Regions from separate parts of the Homo sapiens genome. Here region 1 is linked to region 2. The links are contacts of gene promoters, found by promoter capture Hi-C in blood cells and fetal thymus (Javierre and others, 2016). All regions are on one chromosome and are shown on one strand. Each heading gives the region's core, a stretch centred on a gene start or on the middle of the fragment in contact. The rest is flanking DNA. Distances are from core to core; before and after follow the strand shown.

What was found. The method cuts DNA at HindIII sites, captures the fragments that hold promoters and counts their contacts. A CHiCAGO score of 5 or more calls a contact.
Region 1: a contact is called between the fragment with the promoter of TWIST1 here and a fragment that was not itself captured in region 2, in 4 of 17 cell types (megakaryocytes, M0 macrophages, M2 macrophages and 1 more). The highest score is 9.1, in megakaryocytes.

The regions. Positions count from the first base shown.
Region 1 is chr7:19,114,484-19,119,107 of GRCh38, forward strand. It overlaps TWIST1 (twist family bHLH transcription factor 1), which reads right to left and starts at 3,153. Exons shown (of 2, transcript NM_000474.4): 1 at 2,188-3,153; 2 at 985-1,648. The coding sequence starts at 2,838. The coding sequence ends at 2,230. RefSeq lists enhancers at 2,160-2,419, 2,443-3,226, 4,300-4,624. The HindIII fragment of the contact is 6,123 bases long and covers 1-4,624 here.
Region 2 is chr7:19,438,241-19,443,195 of GRCh38, forward strand. No RefSeq gene overlaps it. Among named protein-coding and RNA genes, the nearest start is that of MIR3146, 260 kb to the right of the region's middle. The HindIII fragment of the contact is 4,114 bases long and covers 1-3,612 here.

The sequences.
Region 1 (4,624 bases), core at 1,903-4,402, 320 kb before region 2:
GCTAAGAACTGATACAAAATCACTATTTCTAATAATGTTAATTATAAAAGCCAGTATGTTCCTGGCCCACAAATAATCAGAATGAAATAAAAAATCAAACACCCCCGTTTGCCCATTATTGTTTTACTTAACTTCAGATTGTGTGTGTGTGTATGTATGATCTCACCAGGGAAAAATTCTGTGTAATTCTGGATAAAATATAACGCTAATGAACTGACTAGTAACTGCATAGCTGTAGTATTTAAAACTGTGATTATTCCAACTGTGATTATATCCAGTTACCAAGGATACTGAAAGTTCAGGATCTTCATTTTTGTATATTATTCCACAGCCTTATATTCTTTACACATAAAAAAAGAATGATGCTTCCCAAATAGCGTCAATATAGCGATATATTAACTTTTCTTTTTAGCAAACATGACACTAAACGTCATATTCATTCATGAGAGAAGAGTTAAGCAAATTACAAATGGAATTTTCTCTTTTCTGCTGATTTACACTTTATTTTCTATGCATTTCTGGTCATTTCTATATGTGTATAGATAATTTTCATAACACTATATATGTTTTCACTGAAAAGAACCTGTTATTTAGGAATCTTCACAAAGAGTGAAGAGCATGACAAAAAGTACATAATAAGAGAATAGTGCAGGTTTTATACTCCTTATTTGCATTTAACTGTTTTAACAACTATCACCTCAAAATAAAAAGGAGGTGAATAGCAAATTTGTTAAGTTTTTGCTGTTTGGAGACAGTAAGAGATGAAGAGATGCTACTAAGCCCTCTGAATACCAAACTGGAATAATAATAAAGCTGTCTTTTAAAATAACATGCTTGTGCCTGTCAGTAGCTGCTTTATTTGAGTTTTTCATTGCTTTGTTTATATTAGTGCCCCCTCCCTCCTGGGTGCCTCTAGAATTAAACAAGCAGGTATTTACCACCAACTTAATCTTTAGTTTTAAAAATATAGACCAAACTCTAAGGTTCTCTAAATTTTTTATATTTATTTATTGCAGAAAAATATACAAAGATATTTACAAAACAATCATAAAAATATGAATGCATTTAGACACCGGATCTATTTGCATTTTACCATGGGTCCTCAATAAATAAATAGAATGTTGTTTTTTGTATTTTAAGTTTTTTTTTGTTTTTCCCCTCAGAGGAAGGATGAAAAAAAGAATTAACTGACTATGGTTTTGCAGGCCAGTTTGATCCCAGTATTTTTATTTCTAAAGGTGTTCTTATAGTTCCTCTGATTGTTACCATTTTAAAATAGAGAAAGTCCATAGTGATGCCTTTCCTTTCAGTGGCTGATTGGCACGACCTCTTGAGAATGCATGCATGAAAAAAATAAAAATAAAAACATTCTTCGTCAAAAAAAAAAAAAAAAAAAACACAAACAACTGTTCAGACTTCTATCAGAATGCAGAGGTGTGAGGATGGTGCCGCTGCCCGTCTGGGAATCACTGTCCACGGGCCTGTCTCGCTTTCTCTTTTAAAAGTGCGCCCCACGCCCTGTTTCTTTGAATTTGGATTTTGCTCTTCTAATTTCCAAGAAAATCTTTGGCATATATTTTTATTTTTAGTTATCCAGCTCCAGAGTCTCTAGACTGTCCATTTTCTCCTTCTCTGGAAACAATGACATCTGCAAAAACCCAGAGGGGGGGGGGGGAGTCGGTTATTGTTTAGGTCTCTGCGGCTGTTTTCTAAGACTAGTGAGCACTGTTCTTATCACCACCACTGAGAAATTAAGCTGAACAACCTGGAAGGATTTCAGCCCAAGGGCAAGAGGAAGTGGGTGGGTGGAAAGGAGGAGGAGGTGGAATTTGTTTTAAAACATTTGTTTTAAGGAGAACAAAAATTGAAAGCCGAAAGAAAGGGTGGCGCTGACAAAACGGTCCTTACCCGTGACCCTGGGTGTCTCTGTCTCCCCTCCTGTCACGCACACTCACGCGCACACACACCCCTCACCAGGGCGCATCCCCCTGGAGACTGCTCTCCCTAGCGGGGTCAGACCGGCCTTCCGGGGACGCTGGGGGCGCGAGGCAACGGTGCCAAGTGAGGTGGGAAGGCTGAGCGGAGAGTGGGAGAGGGGAGGAAATCGAGGTGGACTGGGAACCGCGGCCTGGCCGGCCTGCCGTCTGCCACCTGAGAGGCGAAGGGGTGCAGCGGCGCGGTCCTTACCTAGGTCTCCGGCCCTGCTGAGGGGGTGGGGGGCTCCGCCTGCTAGTGGGACGCGGACATGGACCAGGCCCCCTCCATCCTCCAGACCGAGAAGGCGTAGCTGAGCCGCTCGTGAGCCACATAGCTGCAGCTTGCCATCTTGGAGTCCAGCTCGTCGCTCTGGAGGACCTGGTAGAGGAAGTCGATGTACCTGGCCGCCAGCTTGAGGGTCTGAATCTTGCTCAGCTTGTCCGAGGGCAGCGTGGGGATGATCTTCCGCAGCGCGGCGAACGCCTCGTTCAGCGACTGGGTGCGCTGGCGCTCCCGCACGTTGGCCATGACCCGCTGCGTCTGCAGCTCCTCGTAAGACTGCGGACTCCCGCCGCCGCTGCTGCTGCCGCCGCCGCCGCCCGCGCCGCCGCCGCCGCCACAGCCCGCAGACTTCTTGCCGCGCTTGCCCTGGGCCGGGCTGCCCGGCTCGTCGCCGCCTCCGACGCCCCCACCCGCGGCTCCGCCGGGCCCCGCGCCGCCGCCCGCGCTGCGCCTGCTGCTGCGCCGCTTGCGTCCCCCGCGCTTGCCGCTCGGCGGCTGCTGCCGGTCTGGCTCTTCCTCGCTGTTGCTCAGGCTGTCGTCGGCCGGCGAGACTGGCGAGCTGGACACGTCCTGCATCATCTCTCGAGCGGCGACGCGTGGCCTCGCGGGCCCGGGGCAGAGGAGAAGAGCGGGGCGCCTCAGCCCGCCAGCTTCCCCCGCGCGCGGCGCCGGCCCGGGCGATGCGGCCCGCGGAGGAGAGAGCAGGAGGACGGACGGGAGGGACCTCCGCGGGGAGGGCGCGCGGGGGAGGCGGGGAGGGAGGCGGGAGGGGGAGGGGACGGTGTGGATGGCCCCGAGGTCCAAAAAGAAAGCGCCCAACGGCTGGACGCACACCCCGCCAGGCCTCCTGGAAACGGTGCCGGTGCTGCAGAGCCCGCGAGGTGTCTGGGAGTTGGGCGAGAGCTGCAGACTTGGAGGCTCTTATACCTCCGTGCAGGCGGAAAGTTTGGGGGCAGCAGTGTCATTGGCCTGACGTGAGGAGGAGGGACTTTTCGAAGTTTTATAGGAAAGTTTCCGCTTTCCAGTCCCCCTCCCCCGTCCCACCTCCCTTCCTCGGGGTCTAACAATTCGTCCTCCCAAACCATTCAAAAACGACCTGGCCCGGGCGGCCGGCCCCTCCACCCGCCTCCTAGCCGCCCTCCCCCTTCCCTCCCCGTCGCCTTCCTCCGGCGGGCGCGGGGCGATTTCCTTCCCCGCCGGAGCGTGCGGGCAGCGCCCCCGAACCCTAGCGCAGCCCAGGAAGCGGTCGGAGGAGACTGTCCTGGCCGCGGTGGCAGCCCCATCCGGAGTGGCTGTGACAGCAGCAATGGCAACAGCTTCTACACAGTGGGTGATGTCTCATCTCGCCCAAGAGCCCTCTAGGTCCGTGGGGCCGATTTGGGATTGCTGGGGCTGGGGGGGTGGTGTGGCGCGGGGTGGGGGGGCATGCCAAGAAAAGTGTCAACCGCGGAGCCCACCCAATGGTCAGGTAGACGAACCCCTTGGAGTTCCAAAGGCCAAACCGCGGCGGCCCAGCCCGGAGGTCCTGGGCGTTTCTGAAGACGTGGCCGCGCCGCGGGGGCTGAGGATTTGCGTCCCGGCCTGCTCTCTCGCCCTTCTGGGCCCTCCTTTCCCCTCTACAACGACCCAGTCTGACGCTCCCCAACATCCAAAGGACTACGCCTCGGAAGGTGCTCGAAAGAGGCAGAAGTTCACTCTTCGGTGGAAGGAAACCCAGTCCATGGGAAAGGCAGCAGAGCCAGAGGGGGGCAGCGCAGCGCCTTTGCTGCGGCCCTAACAGCTGGCAATGCCAACCCAAGGGAGAGACCCTGTGGCCATTTCATCCCCACCCCCAAATTAGGCTCCGCATTGTGACCTTGAAAGGCCAGCTTGTAAGAGAGTGAAGTGGGAATTTGATAGCGCCTAGACATAGGGGCTGCCCGCTCTGAGACCCCCCCCGCCCCAGCCCCCACTATCTAGGGCATCCAGTGGACAATTAGGCTTCGTGAGCCCCAATTCCAAATGCTTGGATACGCTAACATTTTAAGCATTTCTGTCTGTAAGTTAAAACGAAGAGCCCCAAAGAGGGTGTTAATGTAGATCCTGGCAAACTGGAAGCAGCAAAGTTGGTGAACCAGAAAGGAAGTCGCCTTGGATAAGAAGCCCATCTTTTGCAATGCCATACTTGTTTCCTTTTTGAAATGAATTGAGGTAAAATAACCGTTTCAGGTCCATCCCTTACATGGCAAAGTAAAAAGCTGGAGTCAGTACACAGTGTTGGGGTGGGGGCAGCGTTTGGGGGCGACGAGTTTTGTGCACCGCGCTGGAGTACCCTGCACATAAGGTCCGCTCATGGGCTTCTCAGTACGGACTCGCCGGCGGGAAC
Region 2 (4,955 bases), core at 306-2,805:
TTCTTTATGGTATAAGCATTATGCAATAAGGAAGTAGGATGTGATTAATAATCAAAGATAACATATTCTCCAATGTGTGGACAATATATTCTTAAAAAATAAAATTATAAATCCCAGATTACTATCATGTATACTTTGTAGACCTGTCATAATATCATATTACTATAAATCTCAGAGCAAACAGCAAACATTTTCTGTGAAAGACCAGATAGTAAATATTTTGACTTTGCATTCCATGTGCTTTCTCTTGGAAATACCTAACTCTGCCCTTGTAGAGAAAAAGCAGCCATAGACAATACATATATGAGTGGAAATGATTGTTCCCATAAAACTTGACTTGTAAATATATGTGGCAGGCCAGATTTGGCCCATAGGCTCTAGTTTGTCCAACTGTTTTTAGAAGATGGTCTATACAAGGCCCACAAAGTGGGCATGTGGACTCACATATAGATGAATATATTACAATATTACAATATTCCCATAGTGTATATTTAATATTTTAAAAATTTCATATACTAGGTTTTCAAGAGCCAGAACTGTCTTGTTTCTTTTTTCTTTTTTTTTTTTTTTTTTTTGAGACAGAGTCTCGCTCTGTCGCCCAGGCTGGAGTGCAGTCGTGCAATCTCCGCTCACTGCAAGCTCCGCCTCCCGGGTTCACGCCATTCTCCTGCCTTAGCCTCCCCAGCAGCTGGGACTACAGGCATACACGACCACGCCTGGCTAATTTTTTTTTTTTTTTTTTGTATTTTTAATAGAGACGGGGTTTCACTGTGTTAGCCAGGATGGTCTCGATCTCCTGACCTTGTGATCCGCCCACCTCGGCCTCCCAAAGTGCTGGGATTACAGGCATGAGCCACTGTGCCCGGCCTGTCTTGTTTCATTTTGAACTTCAGTACCTAACAATGTTCTGGCACTTGCTAGTTGCTCCATATAAGTTGGTCATTATTCAAATAGGCATTAACATGCTATTTAAAATAGAGTCAGCATTCCTAGGTGTGGTGGACCCAGTTCCTCCCTTAAGAACAAGAACAATGGGCTTCCTACCTTTAACGCTAAGAGTGCTGCTGGTAGACAGCCCTCAGCTGAAAACCCTTAGAAATTACTTAGGGTCAAGAGAGCAACCTCTTCTAAGGCCGTGTCTCCTTCCCAGGACACCCTGTTTCCAGTGACAGATCAACATGAGGGATAAGGCTGATGTCTTTATTCTAACTCAGGACAAGTCTGAAGGTCATTTTAGCTTCAGAGTTCCTAGCTGAGGTCTTCATTGAGACTGAATTACAGCTAACCCGTCTCTTCTCAAATCTTCTTCCCTAAATTTTGATTTCAAAGGACTCCTGATATAGTTTGGCTTTGTGTCCCACCCAAATCTCATCTTAAATTGTAAATCTCTAGTTGTCAAAGGAGGGAACTGGTGGGAGGTGATTAGATCACGGAGGCAGTTTTACCCCTGCTGTTCTCGTGATAGTGAGGGAGTTCTTACAAGATCTGATGGTTTAAAATGGCAGTTTCCTCTGTGCTCTCTCTCCTGCTACCATGTGAAGGTCCCTGCTTCCTCTTTGCCTTTTGCCATGATTTCCTGAGGCCTCCCCAGCAATGCTGAACTGTGAGTCAATTAAACTTCTTTTGTTTATAAATTACTCAGTTTCAGGTAGTATCTTTACAGCAGTGTGAAAATGGACTAATACAACCCACTAATAATCCTCCTGCATTCTAGTATCTGTCACAGAGTCTACTTTCCAGTGAATGCAACCTGCAACAGCAACCTACAACAAGAAGAATATTTGCTACGGTTTGAGTGTGGCCGCTGTGAAATTCAGGTGTTGCCAATGTGATAGTATTAAGAGGTAGGGCCCTTAAGAGGCGATTAGGTCATGAGGGCTCCTCCCCAAATTAAGGCCCTTATTAAAGTGGCATCATGCAGGGTTCAGCTAGCTTTCCCTTCTGCGGATGTGGTGTTCTTCCTTCTAGAGAATGCGGCAGTAAGGCACCATCTTTAAAGCAGAGAACAGCCCTCACAAGACAACGGAATCGAATCTACCAGGGCCCTGATCTCGGACTCCTGAACTGTGAGAATATAAATTCTTGTTTTTTTGTAAATTACCCAGTCTTGGGTGTTGTTTTATAGCAGCACAGAATGGACTAAGGTGGTATTTTTACTCATTATGAAGATAGTAATTTAAATGATATCCATTCGAGGTTTTTCTACCTTGAGCTAATCTCATACAGGCTAGCCTTATGAAGTATGATTTTGAAAGCTATCCTCTTATCAGAGCCCATGTGGGTTCCTTTTGACTTCCCAAAACACTCCCCTATTGCAGTTGGTTAAAATTGGTAACCATACTAATTGCTCACTATTTACATCACTATGTTTTTACAGTTCTCACAATTCCTAGAATAAGCACCTCCTAATTACTAATGTTGAGGGCCACTAAGACCTTGCCCCACCAATCTTGAAAGTTTTTAATCTTCACCAGAAGAGACAATAAATAAATCTTCAGTGAGTTTCTATTTTGGAAAGGGACTTTGTGGAATATTAGGGAACAAAAGAAGTAAATATAAGACCAAGTTTCTTTTTCACAGGAAAATTCAGTTCCTGTTAAAAGTTCCTAGTCATGTTAAGGAAGTTGCTATTAAAATTCAGTTCTAGAGATTAGACAAATTAAAGGGAAGCTAATGCTTCTAATAAATATAAAGTGCCTAAAGGGTAGTGAAGAAACTTCACAGTGTGGAACAAGATGATCATGGAAGGGAAAAATGAGGGTACTTTTAAAGGAAATGCCTTTTTTTCCCCCAAACTGCTTTTCCTCAGGTGATTTCAAAGTCATGTATATAAAATCACTTTGGGGGTAATTGAAGGCAGGAGTGAGAATAAAAAGAGAACTGAGAGAAGAAACGCTAACTTTTATTTAGCGCCTTCTGTTGCTAGGGGTCTTTTTAAGCACTTTACATCTGTTAATCATTTCATTATTAACTCTGCGAGGTGGGTTTGGTGTTTCCCACTTTACAAATTAGGGAACAGGTGTGTATAGGGAGGTCAAATACTATAGTTAGTGATACACAGCTATTCATAGTGGATTGAGACTAATTCATTCTGACTGTTTTTTTCTCTTTAAATTACATAAAAATCATATAAAACATGCTGAAAAAGACAGAAACATGTGTACATGGTAATTTCAATTGCAGCCCAGTGAAGATGCTTGTTCTGTTTTTTTTTTTAATTAGCATCAGAGGAAGAAAACCTGATAAACGGATTTCTAAATCGATAGTCAGAACTTGTTCTAGTTATATAGTATCATATGCATTTGGATTGGGTGAACTGTGAAGATTCTAAATTTTGTTCAAACAAGGTTTGTGTCCAACCATTTTACATTTAAGAACCAAAATAGCCGCCAAGCTGTGATGTTTCTAGAAAAATAGTGAAATACATTTTTTTAGTGATTAGAAATTGATAAACTGCAAGTGTTTAGCATTTTTTCAAAGATTCTTTAAATCCTGGTGTTGCATTTAAACGAAAACTATAATTACAACTTGTAAATATGGATAGAATATGGATTGGGAAACAGTTTCTTTTGAAAGAAACTGAAATGTTCTTTCTGAAAGTGTATTTCAAAAAGCTTGGTAATGAACAAGGGCTAAATGTATATTACCAAATGTTGAAAGTTTCCGCTTAAACACTAGATACAATCAAAGCTGATTCCAAGGAAAGTGCTACACCATAGGCAAGTTACAAACGACTTATCAGAAACTTGTTACATACCTTACACATCTTATATACATAAGGCAGTTGAAGCATAGGGAAGTTGGTGATGAGGATTTCTTTAGAGAGAACTAAAGGTGTAAGGTAGGAGGTAAGATCCTCTTCCTGTCAAGACGAGAGAGGGTTTTAGTGGGATTTCTGAGCATTCTGGGCCTCCTGTAGTTAGTTACATTGCTATCTGACTCCTGCTGGGAAAATATCTAAGGCAGAGAAGGCCAGCCAGCGACTTGGTGGTGGTGTGGGGAGTGTGCTTACTGTGTTGTGAATGGGCTGCACTTTTAGATTTTGTACAGGCATAGAATAAATGAGTGCTTCCTGAGGACCAGAGATAGTGCATTATAGGCCATCTTAGAACTTGTCCAATAGGGCCACCTAGAGGGGATCCTGAAGATGGAGAGGGAGTTCTGTGGGGCTGAGGATCACTGTAGAGTAAAATGGTCAGGAAGCCTGCAGGTGAGATCATTAGTCATTGGGGTCTTCACAGAACCCGTGAAAGTGGCCCTTGAAGGAAGAGGTCAACTTTAAATATCCTTTATGCCACTCCCAATCTCTGTCCAGAAGGTGTCCAAAATAGCAGCTAGGAGTGAGGGAAGTGTGTACAGAAAGACATGAGAAAGCCAGTTGCACTGCCTCCCGCCAACCCTTCTCCTACAGCATGCAATAGCTACCAGAAGTTCCTGTCTGGGAGATGGCAAAGAATTCTCAGCTTTCCATGAAGATTGATTGTAGATTAATATACTATTCTCATATTCACACTCCTGAATTTATACTGTGTACATGTAAAAAAAAAAATGACCATAGGACGTACCTAGGTTTTCATCCAAGGTGACCATCATGAAATAAAGTTTCAATTATTAATGGGAAACAGAAATAAAGATTTGAAAATTACATCTCATGAGTCCTTCTTGGTCAATGTATCAGTTACATATATTTGGGTGATCAAGATAATTTCAGTGAACTCAAAGATTTTTGCTAAGAAAGTTGATAAGGTTGGAAATTAGTTTAGTAGAAAGACAACGAATGTCAGGCTAGAGCATTTGGACTTTATTATAGAAAGTGAGGGTCATCGATTGTATTTGAGTTGACATATATCAGATAATGACTACTATGACAACAGTTTTAGTACTATTTTTTAGTAGTGATATGCATGGATTTTTATATAGCAGCTTGGTAATAAGGCAATAAAAAGCCTTGAAAA